Linked DNA regions of Homo sapiens: regions 2, 3 and 4 are each linked to region 1. The links are contacts of gene promoters, found by promoter capture Hi-C in blood cells and fetal thymus (Javierre and others, 2016). All regions are on one chromosome and are shown on one strand. Each heading gives the region's core, a stretch centred on a gene start or on the middle of the fragment in contact. The rest is flanking DNA. Distances are from core to core; before and after follow the strand shown.

Region 1 (7,330 bases), core at 570-3,069:
CACTCTTGTCGCCCAGTTAGGAGTGCAGTGGTGTGGTCTCAGCTCACTGCAAACTCCACCTCCCAGGTTCAAGCGATTCTCCTGCTTCAGCCTCCCAAGTTGCTGGGACTACAGGCGTGCCCTGCCACACCGGGCTAATTTTTGTATTTTTAGTAGAGATAGGGTTTCACCATGTTGGCAAGGCTGGTCTTGATCTCCTGACCTCAAATGATCTGCATGCCTTGGCCTCCCAAAGTGCTTGGATTACAGGCGTGAGCCACCATGCCCAGAAGGAATCAAGAGGTTTTAAGAAGGACAGTGTTTGAGATGAATCTGAAAGGATAAACTGAAGTTTTACAATTTTGAGCTAACTATGACATAAAGAAGCTTCAAATGATCATGATATATTGAGCTAATATTGCTCACATATTAAATCAGACATACAGTTTGATGCCACGGTGTACCATATAACACCCTTCCTTAATTTTTTTTTTCCTTTTTGAGATGTGAGCCACCGTGCCTGGACTTCCCCTCTCCAATTTTTATTAAAAATATGTATATAGATAAAGGTCTAGATGGAGATACTGAGTGGTTATTTCTTGGTGATGAGATTATGGGAAATATTTTTATTTTGTTTTTACGTTTTAATATTTAAGATTTTACACATATATTTTACAACAGTAGTTTTATAATTGGACAAAATTATTTTTGTTAAGGACTGGCTAAAATCAAAGTTGCTGGTTTAAGTGTAACTTGGTACAACCTTTTAAAAATCATTTGGCAGTTTGTATTAGTAACTGTGAAAGTGTTGATAGTCTTTTTCACCTAGTAATTTCACTTTTGGGTATCTTTAAAAATCTACATTCATGAAGATGTTCTATGATTTCTTTATAATGGCAAAAAGTGAATGAAGGAAACAAGTTATGTCCAAAAATAGAGAATTACTGCAGTAAATTTTATGTCCACTTAATGTAATTTTATGCAGCTGTTAAACTGGTTATGAAGCTTATGTGGAAATATGAGGAATGCTTATAAAAGTGAAAAGAGGATGCAAAATCGCGTACAACTACTATTACAGTGTAGTAAAATATATGTGATGGGGCAAAAGGTCTAGAAGAAAATACATTGTCCTCATGTTTTTCAATGTGGTTAATATTATTTTCACAATGAAAACAATAATAAGCTTAAAGATTGGGAATCAAAAGTTCCTCACTGGCCCTCTGATTTGAATATAAAGTGTTAAAAATTTATATCCATCATTAACCAGCCCTTAAGCTTCTACAGACTTTAACAGTTTCGTGTCAGCCTCAACGTTTATCTACTTTCTGACCGGTATCCCTGCCATGATTTTCATAGGAAAGAGAGTCAGAAGGGACCTTTCCAATTTTGTCATTTTACAAATTGAAACTCTGAACCCCAGCCTTCCAAGCTAGCAGCAGAACCAGTATGAGGATCCAGGTCTACTAGGTTATCTAATAGTATCTGAGACCATTTACAGCTTCAGGTCCACCCACGAATATTCATAAACTTGACATGTCTGCTGATTGAACCCTGGCGTCACTACCCTTCTTGGCTGGCCTGGGAGGTTTGATTCCTTTCCCTACAGTCGTGCTCAAACTTTCATTCTCTACCACTTGGGGGCCGCAGACGCGTCATCCAGGTCTCCCTTTTCACTTCCCCCTTCCCGCCCCCAGTGTCCGGCAGGGGGCGCCGTGAAACTCTGGATCCGTGGCCCCTCCCCCGGCCAACCGTCGATTGGGCCGGCGCGTGACGTCACTCCGTTTTAGCCAAACAAATGGGTTTCGGGGCGAGCGTTGGGCGCCGCCGCGCCGCGCTGGGTGCTCGGTCCGACTCAGCGGTGGGGAGTGAGCCAGGCCTCCCGCCACCGCTGCTGCCGCCACCACTGCGTCGGGCTGGTGCAGCCCCGGGCCAGGCCGCGGCCGGGGCAGGAGCGCAGGTGGGTCCGGGCCGAGGTGGGGCGTGGCGCGAGGGCCGCGCGACTGGGGTCCGGCGGCGGCCACCGTGGCCGCTCCCCGCCCCCTACCGCCGCCTGCCTGCGCTCCCGGGGCGCGGGGCGGGTGGGGGTGGGGGCGGGGGCGCCGCCCGCGGGTCCGGGGTAGGGACCCGGCCGCCTGCGCCTCCTCCGGTGCGGCTCTTTCCGCGCGCACGGCCCGGGCGCTGAGCGTCCCCGCGGGCCACGGAGGGTCGGGCGGGTAGGGAGCGGGGTCCTGGGTCCCCGCTGAAGCCGAGGAGATTCACGGATAGGCCGTGAGCTTGCACCGGACCGGCGCTCCCACTTACGGGACCCAGGGCGGTGAGGAAGTCAGCCTCTGGACTGGGGTCGCCTCGCCCCTGTCGCGCCCTCCCGGGCTCGGCCACTCTGCCCTTCCCTGCCCCAGCGCAGGTGAGCTGGCGCTTGTCCTTAACCTTCTTCAACGACGAGGCGGGACGGAGGCTCGGACGCCTCCCCAGCCTCTGGGCTGGCGCAAGTCGACTGCGGTTCGTCCTCAGTCCACGATGAAGTCATAGGGCTGTGGGTCCGTGTGTCTGTGACGTCAGAAGATGGGTCCTGGGATGTCACTGCAGGCCCGGGCGGGGACCTGGGCTCACGGAAGGGCCGGGGGGACCCGCAGGGTAGAAAAAGGAAGTTGTCTTCCACGAACGCTTGGAATCGCAGTGGATTTGAATCGAAAGTTGTTCGGTATCAGCATTTTGCAATTTTAATGTAATAGTTGTCAATTTCTTTAACTTCTTGTCCAGCAAGCGTTGCGAGTACAGCTCAGTATAAGACATTTGATTTAGAAAAACTTAAGTCAGGGTAGGAGGTTTTTTGGAGGGTGTAATGTAAAAAGCCTTTTAGGAAGCTAAATTCGTAGTTTGATAGTTTGCAATCAGAATTACTGAAAAAAAAGAGAACCACTTCTAGTGTTGATAAATCAGTTTGCTTTTTTTTTTTTTTTTTAACTGGACATCTATCTGCTTGTTAGCATTTTTTGTTAGAAAATGGCCAGGAGGAGGGAGAGTGGATCTTACATGATTTTTTTTTTCTGTTGTAAAGGGAGGGAGGAGTTTGAATTAATCCAACATTTGTCTTAAATAATAATTACCTGAGGAGTTAATTTATCCAGGTTGTCCCTATCCCACCCTATGGTACCATGCTACCACCCCATGCTACCATGGTTTAGAAGTCAGCAACAAGCTGTTTTCTTGCTTTCTTACTGAGACCCGGCTATAACTTAATATAAAAACATATTCCAGGACCGCTTGTCTGGATAGGTAACTAAAATTTTGTCTGTAGTGCTTTTAAATATGAAATTAGAGAATAAAAAAATGATTTGTCTGTGAATACTGTTTTTCTTCCAAAGCTTTCAGAAGAGATCTAACTGGAAGAGAAGCTAGTCACTTTGTCATAGTGACCCTCTTCGGGTATTCCAGCATATCAGTACTTTTCATTTCCTCCTCTGTAGAATAATGTAAATGGAATCTAGTTCAAAAGGTAGATGGCTTAAACTTGAAGCATAGTTAGTCTTTAGCAGGAAGCTTGGGTAGAAGTCCTTAATCCTTCCTCACTGACCTTGACTTGTAATGGTACGGTTTTTTTTTTTTCCTCTCTCTCAATACTTCCTGCTCCCCATTTGCCTTTTAGAGGTGATTGATAAGATACTGTCTCTCTGGGTTTTACATCAACATGCAGATGGAAGTTATGCCCATTTTCAGGCAGGAAATAAAAGCAAAAATTTACCCGTTAGGTACTATTGGATTTGACTGGAAGTTCACAAAACAAGGCTTTCCTGTACATGTTATTTTGATCCTCACCACAACCTTGGGAATTTGACAGCATTGTGTGCGCTACTGAAAGTTGTTCTGGTTTTTTCTTCCTTCTTTTAAGAAATGAGGAATTTTATGCTGACAGTGTTGAGTGAAGTCTCTAAAGATACAATTTTGTATACAAATTATTTTTCGTATGTACAAATTTTGTATACAAAATTTTGTATGAAAGATACACATTTGAGCCTTTGGATCACCAGAGACTGAGAGGCACTTGAATTATTATGCAACTGCTGATATTGAGAGTGTTAGTCAACCTTTAAGATGAAAGAATCTTGGCAAGATACTATGTAATGCAATTGAAGGAGGTCCAAAATGGACGCTTGCATGTGTCTTTCCCGAGCGGTAGCGATTCTGGGGCCGGCTACACGGCTGTATGTAAGTTAGGTGTACTAGTTTTTTTGTATGTTTTTTTGAAACAGAGCCTCGCTCTGTCACCCAGGCTGGAGTGCAGTGGTGCGATCTCGGCTCACTGCAACCTCCGCCTCCCGGGTTCAAGCGATTCTCCTGGCTCAGCCCCTCGAATAGCTGGGACTACCGGTGCGTGCCACCATGCCCGGCTAATTTTTGTATTTTTAGCAAAGACGGGGTTTCACTGTGTTGGCCAGGCTGGTCATGAACTCCTGACCTCGTGATCCGCCCACCTCAGCCTCCCAAAGTGCTGGGACTACAGGTGTGAGCCACCGTTCTCGGCCAGGTGTGCTAGTATTAATGGGAAAGGATGAAAGTCAGACTAAATAAGAGTTGAAAGACCTGCAGCTGATAAGGAGATACCTGCTATTCGGCAGTGCATTTTTCCTCTCTATTTTGCTTAGCAGTTAGGAAGTTTTTATTTTTCCTCATGGAAAATGAGTTAATAGGTGAAGAATAAATGTCATAGTGCATACTGATGTGACTGAGGGACAACGACAGATATTTAAAAAGCCAGCTTGTGAGTGTTGTGTAATTATCTAACAAGCCAGAACTCGTGTGAAACATTTTTACAGTCTGTTTCTATTTTTGGCAGGATCTTTTTCACCCATGCTTTCCAGTTTTGGGTCTGGGAAGCAGCTTTTACTTCATATAAATGGTTTTATGGAAATTAATTTTGAGATTGGTTTATTATTTTAAGTCATTTTATTCACTTATATAATTTGAAGGCACTAAATTAAACAGTCATTCGTTATCCATCTTTCTGATGGATAAAAGCAAATGTCAAGATGAGAGTGCTGTATTGTAGAAATTCCTCAGGATATGTTTATTGGATCAGTTATTTTATTAACATTTAGAATTTAAATTCTTAAAAATTTTTACTTTATTTTTTAAACTTAATTTATGTTCAGCTAGCTTAATTTGACAGTTTTTATGTTCTAGTAACTTTAATCTTGTTTTAATATTTGTTTGGGAGAAAACATACTTATCTTTAGAGACATCATTTAGTGTTATCTTCCAAAATTTGCAGCTGTTTAGAACCAGATACTTGAGGGAAGCTACTATGGTATGATGAATGCCTTCCTTGTTAGGTCATGTGTGACAAAGGCAAAATTCAGCAAGTGCATAATCTGCAGTCCTTTGGAAGCAACAAAAACAAAAAAGAGCAGATTAACTCGAAATGCATTTAGGTCATCTGGAAATTGAATTCCTGTCAGTTCTTATCTTTGCATAATTTATCTTCTCCCCTTTAGTTAATGCTTATGGTATTTTGAAGCTGATGACATACTTTATTTTCCAGGAGAGCATTAATACAGTGTAGTTGTTTGTTAGTGTTGGTTAAAAGAACTTATCAACCTTTCATTCCCACCTCCATCTTCTAGTTAATGCTCCACAGAAGAGGCTCTCAGTAATCCATTTTAAAATATTCAGCTTCAGAAACCTAACATGTACATTTCCTATCCTCAGTAGAGTATAGGTGTAAATATGAAACTAAGTGCTATGTAAGTGTGGTTATTGCATTATTAGGTATGGATTTCATTCATCCAGCAAACATTTTTTTGAGTATTTCTGTGCCAGGTACTCAGATAGGGACTGTGACACAGAGATGATATATCCTTGCTGCAAGGACCCTTAACCTTTGTTTTAACATTGCCTTGCTATGATGGGTCTTGGGTGTGAGAGGCTAGAGTTGGGTCAAGAGGATAAACTATTGGCCGGGTGCAGTGGCTCATGCCTGTGATCCCAGCACGTTGGGAGGCTGAGGCGGGCAGAACACGAGGTCAGGAGATTGAGACCATCTTGGCTAACACAGTGGAACCCCATCTCTACTAAAAAAAAAAAAAAATACAAAAAATTAGCCAGGCGTGGTGGCGGGTACCTGTAGTCCCAGCTACTTGGGAGGCTGAGGCAGGAGAATGGTGTGAACCCGGAAGGCAGAGCTTGCAGTGAACCGAGATGGCGCCACTGCACTTAAGCCTGGGTGACAGAGCGAGACTCTGTCTCAAAAAAAAAAAAAAAAAACGAGGATAAACTATGTTATGCTAGATTGGCCAGAGGTGTTAGTTAAAGGTCAATTTAAGGAGGTATTAGAAACTCAGTTAAAAAGAATAGGGAATAGCTTATCATAGCCCAAGACAGACAAAGGGCCTAGATAACCACAGATTGAGATTGTGCTAGAATGAATGGAACTTGGTGAGTTCGGGCTTCCTTAGAGGCAAGAACAAGTGCTCAAGGCCAGAACTAGTCTATCTAGGCAATCTAAAATTAGAAGCATAGAAAAGAGGGACAACCCGAATACCTTTTCTCCTTTTCTTTCCACTCTCAGGCATGCATATACCTTCTTTTCCTTTAAAGTCAGTCCTTTAATTGATGAACTTGGGAAATACGCAAGCCTCTCACAGCCTTCATTTCCAGTGTTTGCTTTCTTTCTGGAAGATTTCATAGTGAAACATTTCATTCATTACAGAAAAGTGGAAAGAATTGTTTGTACATTGCATACCTAAATACCCACCACCCCTATATTGTTAGTCATATTTTGGTGTATTTGCTTTATTGCCTATCTATCGGTCTATCCATTCATCAATCCTTTTGTTTTTGTTGTATTTCAAAGTATACTTTACACCTAGACATTTCCCCATGCCTATTATTAACTATTTGTTTACTTGTTTTGTTGTGCCTGAGCGAGTTAGAAAAATGCCACACTTTGAGACGAATTAAGAGTCCTTTATTAGCCGGCGACCGAGAGACGGCTAACGCTCAAAATTCTCTCGGCCCCGAGGAAGGGGCTTGATTAACTTTTATATCTTGGTTGAGGAAGCGGGGGGGTCTAGTTAAAACAATTTTACAGAAGTTAAGTAGTCAAAAAAATTAAAAGGATAAATGGTTACAGGAAAGTAAACAGTTCCAGGTGCAGGGGCTTTAAGACTATTACAAGGTGATAGATTCGGGGCTTTGGGCATTATCAATCAGACGAATTCTTGGGGACTGCGGATATAGCTTCCCACAGTATCTTATCAGTTAATTGCATTCTTGGATGTGCTGGGAGTCAGCTTGCACAAGTAAAGTCCTTGAGGGAAGGGGCTGCCAGTGAAAGCCAAGATGGAGTTTGTCT
Region 2 (6,689 bases), core at 3,471-5,970, 1.2 Mb after region 1:
ATGTCTGCAAACAAAGAAAAGCCCAGGATTGGATGGCTTTACTGCCTAATTCTACCAAACTTACAAAAAAGACCTAACACCAATTCTCCTGGAAGTATTTCAAAAAAATGAAAAGGTTTTCTCCCTAACTTATTCTACAAGATCATCATTACCCTGATACCAAATCAGTCAAGGATGCAACAACAACAACAACAACAACAAAAACTATGGGTCAATATCCCTGATAAGTATAGATGCAAAAATTCCCTCAACAAAATACTAGTAAACGATCCAACAGCATATCAAAAATAAATACACTATAATCAAGTGGGATTTTTTCCAGAGATACAAGGATGGCTCAACATATGCAAATCAATAAACATGATACATCCTATCAACAGAATGCAGGATAAAAACCATATGATCCTCTCAATAGACACAGGAAAAGCATTTGATAAATTTCAACATCCTTCCATGATAAAAACTCATAACCAAGCGTAGAAAGAACATATCTCAATGTAATAAAAGACATTTGAGACAAACCGACAGCTAAATCATACCGCATGAGGAAAAGCTGAAAGCCTTTCATCTAAGAACTGAAACAAGACAAGGATGCCCAGTTTTATCCCTCCTGTTCAACATAGTACTGAACGTCCTAGCCAGAGCAATCAAGCAAGAGAAAGAAATAAAAGGCATTCGAATTGGAAAAGGGGAGGTCAAAGTGTTCTTCTTTGCTGTTGATATACTCTTACATCTAGAAAACCTAATGACGCTACCAGAAACTCTTAGATCTGATAAATAAATTCTGTAAATTTGCGGGATACAAAAGCAACCTACTAAAATCAGTAGCATGTCTATACACCAATAAAAAACTAGCTGAAAAAGCAATCAAGAAGTCAATCCCATTTACAATAACTACAATAAAGAAAATACATAGAAGTAAATTTAATTAACAAGGTGAAAGACTTCAGCATTGGGAAAACCACAAAACACTGGTGAAAGAAATTGAAGAGGACACAGACAAATGGAAAGACATTCCATGCTCATGGATCAGAAGAAGTGATCTTAAAATGACCACACTACCCAAAGCAGTCTACAGATTCAATGCTATTCAAATCAAAATACCAATGTCATTTTTCACAGAAATAGGGAAAAGAATCCTAAAATTCATATGGAACCAATAAAGAGTCTGAATAACAAAAACAATCTTGAGCAAGTAGAACAAAGCTGGAGGCATCCAACAACCTGACTTTAAAATATATTAGAAAGCTATAGTAATGCAAACAGCAGGGTATTGGTATAAAAACAGACACATAGTTCAATGGAACAGAATAGAGACCCCAGAAATAAACCCACAAATTTATAGTCAACTGATTTTTGACAAAAGCACCAAGACCATGGACTGGGGAAAGGACAGTCTCATCAATAAATGGTGCTGGGGAAATTGGATAGCCATATACAGAAAAACGAAACTGGACCCCTATCTTTCATCATACACAAAAATCAATTCAAGATGGATTAAAGACTTAAATGTAAGATCCCAAATGATAAAACTTCCAGTAGAAAACAGCAGACCCACTTTAGGACATTGGTCTAGACAGAGATTTTATAGCTAAGATCTCAAAAACACAAGCAACAAAAGCAAATTTAACCAAGGTGGAATGGGGTCACTGCAAGTGGGACTTGCTTAGGCACTTGGCAGCAATGGCTGCCCATGGGGGACTCTGTCCTCAGGGAACTTGCAAATGTGTGACAGCCCCCCTGCCAGGGGTGCTGAGGTTGCTATCAGTGGCTTTCACTTTAGCCCCCATTGCAGCAGCCAGCAACAGCAGCTGCTGCAGGCACAGGGTGTCAATGGAACTCCAGGGATGGGGAGGTGCAAGCCTCTTTGGCCCCAGGGCAGGATGTAGTCTGGTGAGGGCTGGGCTCTCAAAATGGCACCATGTATTTTTTGCTTAGGTCTTGGGTGGTGTGTGGGAGCCAGCGTGAGCTACCTTGCTGGACCAATGCCATAGCCCCGTCTGCAGGCAGCTAGCTCCCTGTGTTAGTGTCAGGATCCGTGAGGATGGAGTGGGGCTCTTCTTTGTCTAGGATTGCAGGAGTTGGCAGTAGTGAGGTGGACCACTGAGGATCTCTTCTACCCTTTCCTCACAGTAGGTTCCTCACTCTTGGGCTCCTAGCTGATCCTAGCAGAGCAGACTGCCTCCCTTCCCTCTCCTTCCTTGCCTTAGGTGTGTCCTGTCACTTCTCTGTTGAATTCCAAGGTTCTCTCTCAGATGCTCTATTGAGAGAGTAATTACTTACTTGCCGTTTTATTTCTTCTTTGTGGAGGAAGCCAGTGCTTGGTGCCTCCAGTCAGCCACTGAAGCCCCTTCTCTCGTATCTAGTGTTTATCATAGCTCATTGAGTTTCTTTAATATCAATATTTGGAATTCTTTTTCAAGGATTTCATAGATTTCCTTCTCTGTAAGATCTGCTGCTAGAGAATTATTGTGTTCCTTTGGAGGTGTCATGTTTCCTTGCTTTTTCATGCTTCTTGTTTCCTTAGGGTGATATCTTCACATCTGGTGTGACAGCACTGCTCCCAGTTTTACGGATAGGCTTTCACAGGGAAAGAGCTTTCTACAAGGTTGGTCAGCCAGGGTGCTTTGGCTTTGATTCTGGGTGGGTGCAATACTATAGTCTCTGTATGATTTCTTTGGCTATAATCCGCCTCAGTGACTTCTGTGATTTTCTCAGTGGTTTAGGCTGCAGTGGAGCCTGAGGCAAAGCTTTGCTGGGGATGGGGATGACATGTGGGCCAGTCTTTAGGAACCAGTGGTGGCAGTGGCAGGCCTGGTGTGCCAGTCCTTGGAGGCCTGGGAGGTGTATGCTGGCACTGGCAGTGGCAGGTCCAGGCAGGCACATCCTTGTGCCTCCAGGCGGCTTGCTTAGGTGCAGGCAATTGCAGTGGTGGGCTGGGAAGGTGTGTTCTCAGGCGCCTGGGAGATGTGCATATGGCGTCAGCAGTGGCAGTAGCAGTGGGGGGCCAACCTTCAGGCCCCTGGGTCACTCACATGGGTGCCAGCAGTGGTGGCAGCAGGCTGAGCAGACCAGTCACCAGGTCCCCGGATGGGAGCTGGCAGCGGCAGCAGCAGGCTGGGTGAGCATGGTCCAGGGGTGCAGCAGCGGGTAGGATGGGCCTGTCCCTGGACAGTGTGTGCAAGCTCCAGTAGCGGCAGCAGGTGAGCCTATCCCCAGGACCCCAGATGGCATGTGCATGGGAGCTGGTGGTAGTAGCTGGGGCGGGCCAATCCCCAGGCATCCTGACAGCTTGTGCAGAAGTGTGGTGGCTCTGCTCCTGGAGGGGCTAGGGTTGGTGTCAGTACCGCAGCCTAGGGCAGGAGGCTCTCAGGCTCTGGGGGGCACACATTTTGGCTCCCTTGGTCCCAGGGGCAGCCTCCGTGGTGCACTGCACCTGTTCTCTGGGGGGTAGGACACTGTGTTGACCAGACTGCTGGGTACAGAGCTGTGCCACTGGGACTCACCACAGTTGCAGTACTGTAGCTCTCAGGTGGACATGAGAGATCCCAGTGTGGCGCTGGGAATATGGAGATGCAGGGGCTGTGAGCAGCCAGGACAGGATGGAGTCTGGTGAGGGCTGCGCTCTCAAAATATTATTGTGCTGCAACTGCTTGGGTAGGGGAGGGGGATTGGGACCCAGCACAAAATCCCCCCGCAGAACAATGCCGTTATGTGGCCTCCAAGCAGCTCCCATACTAGTCTCAGGGCCCACAGGGGCCTAAGGGCTTTCCCATAGCCAGGATTGCAGAGTTCACTGTGGGAATGTGGACCACTTTGGATCTCTCACTTATCTTTCGCCTGCCATTGGGAATTTCTCTTGGCTTCAGGATGCTTCGCTCCCCTCTCCTTACAAGCCTCAGAAGTGCTCTGTCACTCTCTTGCTCAATTCTGGGGTTCTCTCTTGAAGTTCTGTTCGAGGTATGGTTATCTTCTTGCTGTTTTGGTCCTTCTTGGTGGAGGGTCTGGTGCCTGGTACCTCTAGCCCGCCATGTTCCCATCACTTATCCTCCCCAGCTTTTAAAACAGTTTGGAGGGTTTAGTGGTAATCCTTTTGTTTTTGCTGTCTGGCCTGGAATCCATTAGCTTGGGTGGTCCTGAATCTATATTGTTAAAAATCTATATGTATCCTTTTCCTTGCATCAATAACAGATTTTAGAAGTTTTTTTCTTTATTTCGTTTTTTTCATTTTTAGTTAGAAAAGGATATGGTGCTAGCAGCAGGATAGAAAGAGATAAAAGGCATTCACACAGCTTTTTAGGAATAAATGCCTGGAAACTCTCCAGATTTATCAATTGCATGGTTCCATTTTTATGAGAGTATTTTTAAAATTCTTTTATCATATAGGAAAGTATTTGATGTTATATGTTTTCCAAGGCACTTTTAGACACCTGATCTCATAAGATCTTTATAAGGAGCTTATTATTATGCAGAGTGTGTATTATTTTCTCTTACTTTCTTCCTTCTCTTTGCCCACCCACCCACCACAGTCTCCTGCCCTGAAATTTAATGATGATAACACTGAAATAAAGCATAGCCAGAGAAATCCCTAAACTGGCACAGCAGGCCAGTGGGGGAGCTCAGATTGGATCTCTGGCTTCCTAACTCTTAGTCCAGTGGTCTTTTTCTTTGGAACTGTAAATAAATTCTTCCACCAATGTCCATGTCATTATTCTTTGCTCTCTATTTGCCATGATCTATAGTTTTGGTGGCTCAAAATACATTATCTTCCTGGGACTGGCTCTACCAAGAGCCAAGGACATTTGTGTTGGAGCTAGCAAGGGCCACAGTTAAATGGGTGAATGAACAGGCTGGATGGAAGGACTGTGGTGGAGGATGGAGATGCCAACCTTTCTCAGAACATGAGAAAGGTCTTCCTGTGTCCAGAGTTCTGTCCATTGCACTCACACACTCTTTCCTGGCTCTCCTCTTTTCTTCTCTGGCTACTTCTGTTTTGTTTGCCGCCATCCTTCTCCACCAGGCACCTAGTGTGAGTTCCCCAAGGCTAGTCTTAGTCCCCATTTCTTTCCCTATACTCTCTTCATATGTGGATTCAACCAGGCCTTTTCTTTTCAAATGTCATCTACATGCCAATGGCTCCCAAATCAATTTCCACTCCAGACCTCTCTGTGCTCTGTCCCTTCAATGTAATTATGGACTTAATATTTCTACTAGGATGTCTCAAATTCTCAGAATGTTTCAGATAGAACTTAGGATCTTCCCTCCTCCCCCAAATTGGTTTTCCTCCAGAATTTCCTTTCTACCACACCCCATTGCACAAGTCAGTAATCCTTGGAGCTCCTCTCTCCCTCACACTCTATAGTCTGTATATAATCATGTGCTCCCATCGGGTGACTTTGACAACTTCCCACTCCATTAGCCCACCCCCTAGTCTAAGCTACCACCATCTCTCACCTGGACTGCAACAGCTTCCCACCTGTTCTACCCAAATCCACTCTCGTCCCTCTCCTACTCATTCTTTACACCAAAGTCTATGTTGTGCATCACTGTTCAACCCCCTGACTCCCTGTGCTGAGGCCGCACTGGTCTTTTAGTTCCCTGTAGCAAGACATGTTCCCATGCCTCCTCTCCACCCCCTCCCTACCCCACAACCACCATCGTCACAGGGCCTTTACTCATGGTCTACTGTATGCCCAGAGACTCCCCACCTCCAATCCACACACATACACAGCCATCTAGTTACCTCCTACTCATCCTTCAGACCTACATCACTTTCCCAGACCCAGGTCATGTTCCTTCATTAGAAACTTGTCTCCAGTCATGTTCTGGACATGTGTATCTCAGATTTGTAATTACACTCCTTCACTCACTTAACAGCTCTTTACTAAGCACCTACTTTGTGCCAGGTACTGTCCTAGGCAACTGAATAATTAGTCAAGCAATTGAAAAATAAATGCTTGAGTATTTTCTGTTACTCTCAAGTACTAGGAAACTGAAAAAATACAATATAATTACCACAGGTAATTACATTCTATGAATAATTAATTACAAGTTCATTTCTTTATTTATCTTTTTAATATCATTCCCACTCTAGGCCCTATGTTCAATGAGAGCTGGAACTGTGTATATTCTGGTCGACAAGTATCATCAGCTCTCAGTGTAGTGCTAATGCCTAGCAGGTACTAAAACATTTGGGAAATTAATGAATATTTACATTTGTAAATTAACAAGTGAATGAATAAATATAATTTGAATATTATAACCTGGCTTACATTGAACTTGTGATATTTTAATGTTTAATAAATATTGTGATATACAATTCGAAAACAATTTCATGTGTAGGCGGCAAGACAACCTTTCCCCAACTTGCCCATTAACCTGTAAAAGATGTGAATAGTTACTCCCTTCTCCCCTCACTTTTGAGAAGTGGTTTCCGAAGAGCTAGCTGAACTTTGCTGCCATCTTTTGACCAAAGTTAATACTGCAGAGATAAAAGCTACATTCCGTAGAAATTCTCATTACAGCCTCTGAGTATCAATGAGTTCTAGCTTTGTGTAAAAATGCAAGAACGTGTTGCCACTTAAGAGGAAATACATGGCCACACTCGGTGCCTACTTCTATTATATGTTTCTTTCTTTATTTGCATAGCTATCTTCTATCCACTCTTTCTTCTGTATCCCAGCACCATG
Region 3 (6,264 bases), core at 698-3,197, 1.3 Mb after region 1:
GGCAGGAGCAGCCCTTCCTCGCTCGCGGTTTTCGACGCTGCTTTGGTCTCTGTCAGACCCAACCAAGTCAGTATAAAAGGGGGGAATAGCCATGGAGAAGGTAGGCCTGTGGCCGGGCTTGCTTTTTAAAGGGAATGCTCTCCTGGTGATTAGGAACCTTAAATCACATTATAAGTAGGTGAACGCCAATGCGTGGTGCACTGCGGGAAAACTCGCAGGGCCTGGCTCAAGGGAGGCCTGGCATTTTCTCCTCCCCGCGCTCAGGCGGAGAAAGGTGCGGTCCAACCCGCGGAGGCTCGACCCGGAAGCCGCCGTGGCCGCCGCACAAGCTGCGCTCGTCTCTCGGCTGGGGAGCTCCGTGTCGCACCGGGTTCTTGGGCTGGCCGTGTCCTTCTCCCTCGGTCGCCACTGGCCCATGAGTCCCCATGGCGACGGCAGGGGCCAGGCCCAGGGGCGGGCAGTCCGAGTGGGGCTGCGGCGCTCCGGGGGCATCCGCGGCGGCGTGGCGGTGTTCGCCGCCGTGGCCGCAGTGTTCACCTTCACCCTGCCCCCTTCGGTACCGGGGGGAGACTCCGGTAAAGTACTCGCAGGGTTGCCCCTTCTGTCCCTCTCCCCTGGTCCCAGAACGGGCAGGGTCTGCGTCTGGCCCCTGCTCTTGGCATTCGGTCTGGTCAGCTCTGGGCCTCCATCCACCCCCCTGTGCACAGCGCACTATTGTGTGTTCCAGAGCCCACTTCTGTTTCCATTCCTGTCGTTGTGGTTTCTTTAGTTCTCAGGTTTTCGAGATGGGGCGTATTGTTGGTTTCGCCTGGTGGGGCTTATCGACCTCTCCACTTCCCCAGATCTTTTATCCTGGTCCTGAGTATTTACTTTCAGTCTTTTTTAGTCCACAGATATTATTCACGGTGTCCTTATTATGTTTCAAACAAAAGAACAGTAGTGGCGAACAGATAATTGCTAGTGTTCCAGTGCGGTTAGACAATACACAAGTTAATGAATAAACAGCATATTCACTGGTGATAAGTTATGGAGACAGTAGGAGGGAAATATGATTGAGAGTGGGGGTAAGTAGTGGGTCCTTCCGAATGACTATTCAGGAAAGACCTCTGAAGAGGTGGTGTTTTAGTTGAAACCTGAATATTGAGAAGGAACTAGCCATGCAGAATATTTGCAGGAGAACTCTTAAAAAGGTGGAAGCCAGGTGCGGCTGTTTCTATGAAAAAGAAAAGCATGACTCATTGGCCCTTAAATCACACTAATTGTTTTGTATTTGATGCAAGAAACAAGATCCATGTTTTGTTTTTGGATTCAATAATGCCATATCATGGCCAGTAATTTTGTCAGAATAGTGCTGTAATTTCAGGTGGTGAACCTATGGACTGAAGAAGCAGTTTTTGCTGCATGACTAGTGATCCCCAAATTGAGCAGCTTAAACAGCAAACGTTTATCGTCTCCCGTTTTTGTAAATCAGGAGTCTGGGTGCCGTTTAAGCTAGATGCTCGTACTCAGAAAAAGGTTGCTGTCATGGTGTGCGATGGGGCTGCGGTCTTCTCAAGGCTCAATTTGGGGAGAAACGCAATCTAGTTCTTTGCTATGTGGGTCTCCATAAGTTAACTGACTTCTGTCAAGAAAAAGATGAAGGACACCTCTCTGTCTGACAGCTCTGTCATTTTGTAACCTAATACTGTAAGTGATATACCACTTCTGCATTTTATTCCTGGAACTTCGTCAGTAAACCCAACCCATATTCAAGGGGGAAGGATTACACAGGTGAGAATATCAGGACTTGGGGATTAGTGGGGATCATATTTAGGGCTGCCTACCACGTTGAAGATCTTTGATGTTACATCTTCAAATTGTTACCTTTCTTCTTTCAGGTCCTGTTGCACAAGTAGGGATAGTGTTTCATTCGTGTAGTAGGGAGTTTCTGTACAGTGTTACCAAGATTGGTATTTCATAATGGAAGTAACTTTATAGTTGTGAGTTTTGGTGCTGGAGAGCATTATTCAGAGGTTAGGTAGTTCTGTTACTTGTAAAAAAATAAAAAGATTGACAGCTACTTATGGTTGGTTGAGTGTGAAGGATGGGAGTGAGATTTATAATAACTGACGTTTGTTGGGCACTTACTATGTGCCAGGCACTGTTCCAAGTGCTTTATATGGGTTGTTGTTTTAACCCTCCCAGCTACCCTTAAAAGTAGGTGCAATTATTATTTTCCTTTTATAAATGGGAAAACTAAGGCTAAGCTATGCCCAAAGTCACACAAAGTAGAGAAATCAGGAAAAGAAAAGTATATTGACTTCAGAATATGCCCCCTTAACCTCTACTTTTCGTCAAAACATTTCATGAAATTCTTTTCTAAATCCACCATCACATATGTAGTGATGTTTAAAATTTATTTAAAATCATGATTATTGCCTTGCCTTTATTAATACTGTATTTTATTTTTTCCTAAAAGAATAAAGTTGTGTATTCACCTTGAGTTACCAAACTTTAGGTGCTTTAATTTTGTTTGGTTTGATGTTAAATAGTGGTTGCTTCTAATATTTTTATGTTCATTTTTGGGAATGATAAACTGTTTTCCAAGTATATGCCAATATGGAAAATTTGCTTTATCGTATATTTGATAATTGTGTTTACATGTTGAATGCACTATTCTTGAATGTTTATGAATTATATTTTCATCAATAAACAGAACACATCTCAAAACCAGTATAAAGCATGTATTCTTCTTCCTGATAAGTCTTACATTTTACTCCATAGATTCATCACATTGTGTCGTCTTGCCAAAATTATTTTTTGTACCACTTGACACACACAGTTCATTTATGGGCAGGGTGCTTGTGGTGCTTTTCGGGGAGGGGGTAGGAATCTGGCCTTCACTAAATTAGTTTGTACGTGAGTTTATTTCAAAGATACTGTCTTTAACAGATGTGATGTGTGACAGTCTAGTCTAATTAATATTGAGAAGTATGATATAAAGGGAGCTGGTTTTTGTAAAGGTTAAGCATCTGCTGACAACTCTGGGCTTGCCATTAGTTTGTATTGCAGACAACAAAGCCGTGGTTCTCAGACAGGAACGTACTTCAGAATTACCTGGGAAACTTGAGCCCCCAGTGCAAGTGGGTCTTAGTAGATTATGGAATTTGGAGGTGTGGGCAAGGAATCTTCATTTTTAAAAAGCAGGTTAATTCTGATGCAGGTAGACACAACTGAGGAACCTTTCATGTAAAGGGTTGGGAGAAAGCCAAGACTCGGGAAGCTCGAGGTTTTTTTACTATTCCCTTCCTCTTTATCACAATCAATTTAAGAGTAGTATTTCCCTTTAGATCTTTATCAAGGTTACATTTAGAGACGTTGAATGGGGACATCTTTTCTATTTCGATTTTAGTTTAACATTTGATAAGAATTGATGAAAGTTTGTCACATTCCAGATTTATCTTTATAGCAGCAGAAGTCTGGCAAATAATAACAGCACACTGACTTTTCCATGGTAAAAAGAAGTTAGAGAAAAACAGCCTATTTTTCTTAATGTTAAATGTAATTCTGAATACATTTTAAATGGAGGAGAATGAATAGTGACCTTTGAAATTTTGAATTTATGGTGGCTTCGTTACAAAAAGATTACAGGAACAAAAAAATCGAAAATAGTTTGGAGCTAAAGACTTAAGAGCTAATCCATTATGGAGTAAACTATAAAATCATATCCTTTACAGTAGTTAACAAAGGGAACAGTTGTTTGAGACATTGTGAGACCATAAACTATTTAAAAAGAAGCATTTAGGATATAAAATGTGCTGGTTTCTCAGGTGCTCTTGAATATCTCTTAACAAATGTCCTTAAGTAATTGACTTAATCTGTCTTCAGGTGCCCTTATAAGGCTTCCATGATGCAGTCACCTAAGACTGGGGTGTCTTAGTAGCAAGGATGACAATGTGATGTGTATTTTTGTTAACCTCTGTGTGTATGGCTTGAATTGATGCTTTGTGTGTGGCCAGAGGGGAGAGGTGGTGGTATCCTGGCACGATCGTGAAATGGATAGGATAATGTTTTTAAACTTAGTGGGAGAGAGAAATGAAAACCAACCAGAATATAAGGCCATCTAAAGTGCTAAATAGACTCAAGCAGGTTCTATGGAGGAGGAAGAAGTGATTAATTCTGATGGGGAGGCTGGGGAAGCAGGTGTCTAAGGAAAGGTTACCAAGAAGGTGGCAATTGAACTTGGCCTTGAAGGATTTAGGGGGAGAATGCTAGGGAAAATATTCCAGGGTGAGAAAATGAGTGAGAAGAGGTGCAAAAGAGGACCACTCCAGAGAAACAGTGGGTAATAAGATTTGACTGGAGGGAACATAGGTTTCATGGATATAAGCCTAGAAAAGGGACCTTGAAACCATAGAAAGCTTGAACGTCATGCTGAGGAATCTGAACTTCGTTCAGTAAGCAGAGAGCAGCCATTGAGAAATTTTAGACTAGGGATGCAATCCAGCCTTTTGTGTGTGTGTGTGTGTGTGTGTGTGTGTGTGTGTGTATGTGTTTAGGGGCATGGGGGAAGGCAGGTGTTGATTATAAGTGATTTCAGTATGAAGATGAATTGAAGTAGGATTGGTCAAGTCTGTTGCCATAGTCCAGGCCAGAGAGAGTAAAGGTCTAAATTGTAGCTGGGACAGAAATTAAATGCAGAGTATTGCTATCTATGAAAGGATAGGAAGTGGACAGTAGTACATTTCCTAATAGGTACTAGTAACTTTCATGAGTCATTCATCAATATTGATTCCTTACATTGTACGGTACTACAATGTACAGGGATGAGTCAGAAATAGTCCCTGTGCTCTGAATACGTAAAAGGTTAACAAATAGGCATCAAATTACTGCATCATAATTTTAGAAATAGTCACTAATGGTGAGGAACTATAAAGGACTATGTAAAGAATATTATTTAATGGTTTGAAAAAATGTCTTACAGTGAACCTTACCGAAATAACGTGGAGTTAATAAACACTTGGAAATCATTTAAAGATATCCAGTGCAATTAATGTGGAGAAGATACCCAAATGCCAGTTTTAGGGTAGTATGGGACATTTTATGGAGTGTCCAAACCTCAGATGTCTGCGCATTTTACCTTACTATAAGGTTGTATCTTTATAGACTTTCGTGCTAATTTCTTGAGGGATAATAAAGCATATTACACTAATGCTCCAACAGTATTTGTATATTTGCAAGTGGATACAACTTTCAAGAGGGAAAATAAGCATTTTTTAAAGACCAGAATGTACCTATATTTCCACTGACCACTTCTTAAAGACTATCAAAGATAGTTTGTTCAATAAGACCTAAAGGAGAAAATATTCTTAGACTATTTCATGCTGTTAAATCTCTACAGATTTACAGTTTTATCCAGTCAAATTAATGCAAAACCCCAATGCAAGCATTTGGATTTTGAAAACTTTGGAGGAGTGTCATTCTCTAATAGTAATTATTGGTTTTACATTATTTTTTCACAGGGGAACTGATCACAGCCGCACATGAGCTTGGAGTAAGTATTAGTTTTATTGTTTAATCAATGCTCTCATTAACAGTTTTAGGAATTAAGAAAGTTTAATTAAGCATGGAGTAAAGTAGATTAATTTATTTTCAAACCCCCGTTTTTAGTAACTTATAAGTACAGTACGTGACAATTTACTTTAAGTTTTAAATCCAATTAAACTAAATTATAAAGCAAAGCCTTTACTATATATACAGTAGCTGCCTTATTATCACCCCAAATTTTGTATAAGCTGTGGGGAATAAAATAAATCGGGTTAACAGTTTTAATAAGTTTATTATTTAATAAACTTTATTATGGTGCATGATCCCTTCAGGCAAGACCTTACGACTGTCAGCATGGTGGTAATCCGATAGCAGTGTGGTCTTTCAACTTTCTAACCAATACGATATTTCAGAACCTGCTTTTTTTCAATAGCCTTTTAAATGACCCTAATGTACTGTGAACCCAGAGAACAAACTGCTTAAGAACTGACAATGAAATATGTCACCCTTTCTCTGGGTGACGCACCATGTGATAGACGCTGCCAAATCCACTAAAGAAAATATTTATTTGTATTGCCTCAAGAGGATTACAATAGAAAACCACTATTCAAACATTTAGTCATTGGTGCCTAATCTTTATAGCTGCTTGAGAAAAGGGCTACTTTTCAATTAAGGCCTGTGGGACTCTTCCTTTCCTAGATGAAAACCTTCTAACTGTTGCTAATTTTTCCGTAGGTT
Region 4 (7,134 bases), core at 4,438-6,937, 1.2 Mb after region 1:
GTAAGGACCCAAACTCTGTTTCCAAGATGGCACCTTGTTGCCATCTTGTTCACATGGTAGAAGGGCTGAAAGGGGTAAACTCACTCTCTTAAGTCCTTTTATAAGGGTTCTAATCCTATCTATGATGGTGGAGTCCCCAGGACCTAATCACCTCCCAAAGGCCACACCTATTACTATTATCACCTTGGGGGTTAAGTTCTAACATATGGATTTTGGAGGGACACCAACATTCAATCCATAGCAGTTATCATGGTCAGATTACTTCTTAATTATTATCATAAACAGAGTAATTAATATAGTCCTAAGATAACATAATAAAAGTGTATTATGTTGCATGTAAAAGTAAATGGTTCCTGCCGGTTCTCTTTCTTAGGTGTGGGAAAGGAGGCATTATCAAGGCAATATCAAGTTCAATCACTAAATCCCATTCTTTCCCAGGTTGCTGAACTTTTTTTACACAATTGTGGAACTCAGTCCAAGGTAAATTAATAGGTGCCATCTAACATTTTCTTGGCCAAACTGAGCTAATGTGAAAAACATTAGTATTTATTAATACCCACACATTCACTGTTTCTTTAATTAAAAGTTCTACTTCCTGTTGTTTCCTGAGAGCTTGCACTATTTTGAATTTATCACACCTCTCAGCCTTGATAAATACAAAGATTTGATAAATCTAGAGATTCTCTTTTAACATGGCCAATTCAAAGAGAGAAAAGAGCATATTTTTGTATCCTAGTCACCTAGATAATAGTCATGCCAAGAAGTTTTCCTTTCATTCATGATATCCACTCTAATTACACGTTTAGATATTGGAGTGATCACCAGTTACCAACAGCTCTCTTGTTAGCAGTGTTTTTATTGATCTTTTGCCTCTTTTCCACTGCATCCACGAATTCCCTGAAATACGCCTTTCAAGTATTTGGGAATTTCTTTGCAATAACACTCTGTATTCAGAAATCCCATTTATACAACTTTAGCTCCCTCTATTGGCTCAGTTATTTTCACCAGAGCAATAAACAATAGCCAAGGCATGGCCAGTTTCACACTCATTTGTGGGGAAAAAAAATTCTCTATTTTAAATTAGTGGACCAGACCCAAGGCCATGGTTCTTCTTGTTACATATCTGAAGCCCTTAGCTATCTCACACCACAGGCACTCAGCTGATCAACCCAACACTGCAACACCGTCTTGGTCCCTTCATCTATGATAGGTCTGGAATAAAGTCGTTAAATCTCCACCTTCTCCCTGCCATCCCTAATCTGCAAGGTGACTGTATGGACAAATGTCAACAGCAAATTTGGGTTGATGGAGAGACCAATGACTCAGACTTCAAGTGATTAAGCTAAACAATATTGCAGTCAGGATAAGTAATAGAGTTAGCTAGGGCAAGCAGAGACACAAGTTTTCAAATTCTCCAATCCTCACAAAGGAGAGTGGGCTAAAAATACCCTTGTAACTGAGCATCGCAGAAAGACTGTCCTCCTTCAATTTTATGAGATTAGAGAGTTCTACATATTAATTAGTCTGGCTATATGCCAGTGCTATATATTCATCTGGGACTGATGCATCTGATAATCTTGGGGTCATGCAATAAACAACATGATTACAGAGCACAGCATGGTATGACATACTCAGGCGTTCACTCAGTTCTTGGTCTCTCAAGGCAAACACTGTCTCATTTCACTCCTAAACTAGGGAACTGCAACAAGAGTCAGTTACTCAGGCATCTCTGAATCATATTAATAGGCCCTTAGGGTAGCCATGGGATCACATGGCTGGCTCACATTTGCTTTTCTTTCCTCTTCTCACTTGTCCTATTGTTCAGAGTACAGTGTTAGATAGGATTTCATACTATGTGTGATACTTAATTGTGGCCCAAAGGTCACCCCAGCTATGGTCCCACTCTTTGTATCCCCAGGGCTGCAAATGAGGACATGCCTGTGTGGGCCATGGCACTACGACTCCAGAGAAGAGAAGCTGTTAAAAGGGCTACATGGGCAGAGAAAGAAGATATGCCTGAGTCCACATCAAGGTTTTTCACTGGGCAGAGTAGTGATATGACCTTGGGCAAATAATTTAACCTATGTCTTAGTTTCATCTAGAAAATAGAGATGGTAGATTGCAGGTTTGTTGTCTTTAAGCAAATGAATGTATCTGGAACACTAGAACATAGAAAACACTTAGTGAATGGCAGCTACATCATCATCATCATCATGATCATCATCGTCATCATCCCCAAGTTTAGCTGGGAGAGTTTGCTTGGCTGCTTCATAGAAGAATTGCAATCTGGCTTGCCCCAACATGTATAGGTGAAAGGATAGAATATTAAACTCTAAAAAGATTTACCCAAATTAGTTTCATTTCCCTCCTCACATTTTCAAAAATCTTCTTTAGCATGGCATTACATGGATTGTAGAGCACTGGAACATGAGAGTTCTCATCCCATCTCTTCCAGTAGCCATTTGTAGGGCCTTGGGCTTCCCAGAGCCTGTGTTTTCTTGGCTAGAAATGGAAATTTATGCACACTTTGCAAGATTGTTCAAAGACATGATGGGGTAAGGCATGTGATGTTCTTCATATTGTGTCTGGTATATTGCAGGAGGGCCATGAATGCTGGTATCCCTTCTACTCCCTGGGGTCTGAGCTCCACCACTTTATTTGGAAAAGAAGGGTTTAAGGGGAGTTGGGCTCATTTTTCCTCCAAGATTTTTCACTTCTAATGTCCTGTGACTCTTGCAACCTTCTCATGTGGTATATAATGTCATTTCCCAAAATACAGAGAAGAAACTGGGAGATAAACAGCTCTAGAAGGTTTCAAAGCCACTGGCTCTTATCTCCATAGTGCTAAATTCTCTTTCCTGGTTGTTCAGGGTGCCTTATACTGCAATCTGAGAACTCTTCTTCCTGATTTCCTTTGATAAACTCTATAGCTCTCTTGGACCCCTTGAAATGTGAATATTTATATTTATTGGCTCATCATCTTTGTTTAACACATTCTTTAAAAAGTTGTTCTGGCCGGGCTCGGTGGCTCATGCCCGTAATCCCAGCACTTTGGGAGGCCGAGGCAGGCAGATCATGAGTCAAGAGATTGAGACCATCCTGGCCAACATGGTGAAAGCCCGTCTCTACTAAAACACACACACACACACACACACACACACACACACACACAAATTAGCTGGGCGTGGTGGTGGGCGCCTGTAGTCCCAGCTACTCGAGAGGCTGAGGCAGGGGAATCACTTCAGCTAGGGAGGGGAGGTTGCAGTGAGCTGAGATTGAGCCACTGCTCTCCAGCCTGGTGACAGAGCGAGACTCCATCTCAAAAAAAAAAAAAAAAGTTGTTCTGTATTTTGTATCCTAATTATGAAGGCCATGACCTGATTTGCTTCCCAAACACAACCCTCAAGCAATATTTCTCATCTTGGTATATATCATTTTCTTCCATTCTGTTAGTCAATTAAAAATCAAGGTGTCATTCTCAAGTCCTCTCTTTCCCTCACTACCTATACCAAGCCATGAACAAATCCCACTGATACTACCTTTAAAACATATCTAAATGTGTCAACCATCTTCATTCCCATCAATGTCATGCTGGGCCGAGCCGCCATCATTTCTCCTGGAGGATTACTATAGCAGCCTCCTCTGTTCTCCACAAAGGATTTGTTCTCCACATAGTAACCAGAGTTTTTAAAGAATGTGAATCAAATAGTGTAATTCCCCTGCTTGATATCTTCAAAGATTATTCTCTTTGGTTTTCCAAGGCCGTGTATGATCTGGCCATCATCTGTCCTTTCCAAACTCATCTTATGCCATTCTCCCATCTACCAAGCTTCAGCAGCTCTGACCATCTTTCTGTTCCTTGAACACCTCTCATTTCTGTCTTAAACTTCTTGCTCTAGCTGTTTCTTCTGCCTAAAATGTTCCTACTCCTGATCTTCGTCTTGGCTAGCTACCTTGGCATTCATATCTAAGGGTAAATATCATCTTCATAGGGAGGACATCCTAGATGGCTCAATCTAAAGTATCTACTCAACCACTGTCTTCCACATAACTCTATTTTAATTCTCTCCAGGGCATATATCACTAAGATTTTTCTTATTTAAGTTTTAATTTTCTGTATCCCCCCATTAGAATATATGCTCCTTGAAGTGAAGACACTGGCTTATCTTCTTTGCTGCTGTACCCGGGCAGAGCCCAGAGCTGTACATGGCACAGAGTAGCTGTTCAATAACCCACTGAATGAATGGAGGCAAATTCATCCTGCATTGGATTTATATCACTATTTATCATATCATGCCGCTAGAGGGCAATACATCACCTAATTAGAATGAGGAAATCAGTGTCCCTTTCTTCCAAAAGGAACTTAATTGATTTTTAAAATTTATATATATGAGGTGTACATATTTCGAGGGTACATGTGATAATTTGATACATTCTTATAATGTGTAAAGATCAAATCAGGGTAATTGGGATATCCATCACTTTAAATATTTATTCTTTATGCTAGGAACATTTGAATTATTCTCTTCTAGCTAGATTCAGGTGTATGATTGAGCTTAATTGATTTTAATCATTAATGTGACAGACATTTATTTAAGAAAAACACTCTGAAAAGGAGCCACTAGCTTTTCAAACCAACCACCAGGCACTGCCCAGGAGAAAGAAGTTTTTTCCAGGGTTATAAGTGGTAAAATAGTTTTAAATAGACTCTGTATTATTCAGGTTAAAAAAAAACTCATATAAAATGAGAAAGCATTCATGTCCATGATATGAAATTGTTTGGGAAGTCAGAAGGAAATTAAACAATGCCTTATTTTATCCATCTTTTACACACATACACAAAAATGTATTTCTTGGCCACTATTCTTATTTTTGCTTTTTAAAGTTCGAACCCTGGACATCTCATGGGAGTAGGGATTCTGAAAGAGATTTTCTTTTTTTTTATTTTTATAATTCCATTTCTTTCCTAAGCTTTTCTTTTAAAGTAAGCAGCATGGTGTGTCTAGGATATGTCATTGAGTGCTAAGACATCCATGTTCCTGCTGACAGGTCTGCCTCGTGGTAAGAACAGCGAGAGTGACTAAGCTCCAGTGATAAGGGCAATGCTGTTTCTTGAGCCTGCTGCAGCACCTGTCATGGGAGGCAGAGAGAGCATGCAAATCCCTCAGGCCCATGTCTGTTCAATGACAAAAGGAAGGAGGATGCACTATTCCCAGTGACCTCAAGATGGCAGTGGAGAAATACTCCAAATGAATTTCCTGAGGTCACCCCCCGATCCAGCGAAGGACCACTGTAATGGTTGGTTAGCTATGAGGACAGTTTCAGCGCCACATCGGGTCAGTTACCATGACAGCTGGAAAGCTCTCCTGGAATCTATGAGTTTCTAGCTGTCCTGTCGCCAGAGATGACAAGTGACTTATAAAGGAAAAGTTTGAGCCTCCCTAGAAAAACCTTAAATTTGTTTTTAATGTTGCTGACATGACTTACTGTGGCAGAAAGGCTTCTCAGTGTGAGTGCCTATGGCCATGGGATCTTGATTGGTCAGATGAGGCTGGGACCTTTGCATTTCCAGGGCTTTGCTGGAGTAGGAGAGTGGCCTCAACTTTTCTCAGCACTTAGGAACAATGAGAATGGTTTAGGGCACCTACCATGGGCTTTGGGGGATGTATTAGTCCGTTCTTGCACTGCTATGGAGAAATACCTGAGACTGGGTAATTTATAAAGAAAATAAGTTTAATTGGCTCATAGTTCCACAAGCTATACAGGAAGCATGGCTAGGGAGGCCTCAGAAGACTCACAATCATGGCAGAAGGGGGAGGGGAAGTAGGCTCTTCTTATGTGGCCAGGAGGAAGGGAGATGTTGGGGGGAGGTGCTACACACTTTAAAACAACCAGATCTCATGAGAATTCACTCACTATTACAAGAAAAGCGAGGGGGAAATCCGCCCCCATGATTCAACCACCTCCCACCTGCCTCTCTTCTAACATTGGGGATTACAATTCAAAATGAGATTTGGGTGGGGATACAAATCCAAACCATATCACAGAAGGAAATAAGATCAGCTTTTGCTTATTTCCTTAAATTTTGTTGAGTACGGCAGGGTCTATTGAATCCTCACATCTAGTACAATAGATTACCAGCAGCTCAGGAAGAAGGATGCAAAAGGCATGAGAATGACCCCCCTCTGGCCTCCTTCAAGGAGGTGAAAGAACATTATCTCCTACACCCGTGTTCCAATTTTCAACCACAAAAACACACATATGTATGTGCATTAGCAAACACTCACTTGTTGAACACCTACAAAATAGTTATTATACTCATGGAGTCAAATGGAAATGATGCAGAATTAAAGTTATGAGAGGTATCAACAAAACGTTATTGAGAATTCAAAGGACAAATGCCTAAAGCTTTGATTAAGAGGAAATTAGGTAATATTTCATGGAGTAAAGACTGGCCATAAAAGACTGAGTAGGATTTTAGGTGGATGGAGTTGGGTGGTGAAAGGGAGGGCATCGCAAACCAGAGAAAGAGAATAAGCAGAAGTATGAAGGGAAGATCACTCTGAGTGTGTCCGATATAGATAGAGTACAGGCCTAGTATGGGAAGTAGCAGGTGATAAGGCTTTAAAGCAGTGGTTCTCAATCAGGGGAGATTTTGCCACCCAGGGGACATTTGGCAATGTCTGGAGACATTTTTGGTTGTTATAACTAGGTGAGGGTATGTTATTGACATCGGGTGAGTAGAAGCCAGGGATACTGCTAAATACCCTACAATGCACAGGATGGCTTGCCACAACAAAACTTATCCAGCCCCAAATGTCAATAGTGCCAATATTGGGAAACCCTTTTTTCGGGAAGATTGGTCTTGGTCACAGAAGACCTTGAAAATCAGGGGAAGGGAAGGGAGCTTACTTGGTAAGCAAAGAGAGTACAGAAGATTTTTAAGTGGGAGAGTGAATGTGTTGATATTATGATTTATGGGCATTATATGGATATAGGTACAAATATAACCTTTTCCCTCCCTCATCTTCTAAGGAGAAACCTTATTGGCACTACTTGGCTAGCCAGCCTTTGCTGTGCTTAGAGGGTAATAGGTAGAGATGCAGAATTGCAGAAGCCCAGGTAAACTAAATT

The links. The method cuts DNA at HindIII sites, captures the fragments that hold promoters and counts their contacts. A CHiCAGO score of 5 or more calls a contact.
Region 2: a fragment that was not itself captured here is called in contact with the fragment with the promoter of FBXO34 in region 1 in 9 of 17 cell types (fetal thymus, neutrophils, non-activated CD4 T cells and 6 more); the score reaches 19.8 in fetal thymus.
Region 3: a contact is called between a fragment that was not itself captured here and the fragment with the promoter of FBXO34 in region 1, in 7 of 17 cell types (fetal thymus, neutrophils, naive CD8 T cells and 4 more). The highest score is 10.3, in fetal thymus.
Region 4: a contact is called between a fragment that was not itself captured here and the fragment with the promoter of FBXO34 in region 1, in 1 of 17 cell types (fetal thymus). The highest score is 6.2, in fetal thymus.

What each region holds. Positions count from the first base shown.
Region 1 is chr14:55,269,602-55,276,931 of GRCh38, forward strand. It overlaps FBXO34 (F-box protein 34), which reads left to right and starts at 1,820. Exons shown (of 2, transcript NM_017943.4): 1 at 1,820-1,936. It overlaps FBXO34-AS1 (FBXO34 antisense RNA 1), which reads right to left and starts at 2,477. Exons shown (of 2, transcript NR_184222.1): 1 at 2,281-2,477. RefSeq lists a silencer at 1,872-2,371. The HindIII fragment of the contact is 2,090 bases long and covers 1,253-3,342 here.
Region 2 is chr14:56,468,158-56,474,846 of GRCh38, forward strand. No RefSeq gene overlaps it. Among named protein-coding and RNA genes, the nearest start is that of TMEM260, 110 kb to the right of the region's middle. The HindIII fragment of the contact is 3,945 bases long and covers 2,749-6,689 here.
Region 3 is chr14:56,579,500-56,585,763 of GRCh38, forward strand. It overlaps TMEM260 (transmembrane protein 260), which reads left to right and starts at 299. Exons shown (of 16, transcript NM_017799.4): 1 at 299-575; 2 at 5,502-5,533; 3 at 6,262-6,264. The coding sequence starts at 416. RefSeq lists a silencer at 367-586. The HindIII fragment of the contact is 4,901 bases long and covers 1-4,398 here.
Region 4 is chr14:56,486,284-56,493,417 of GRCh38, forward strand. No RefSeq gene overlaps it. Among named protein-coding and RNA genes, the nearest start is that of TMEM260, 90 kb to the right of the region's middle. The HindIII fragment of the contact is 1,437 bases long and covers 4,970-6,406 here.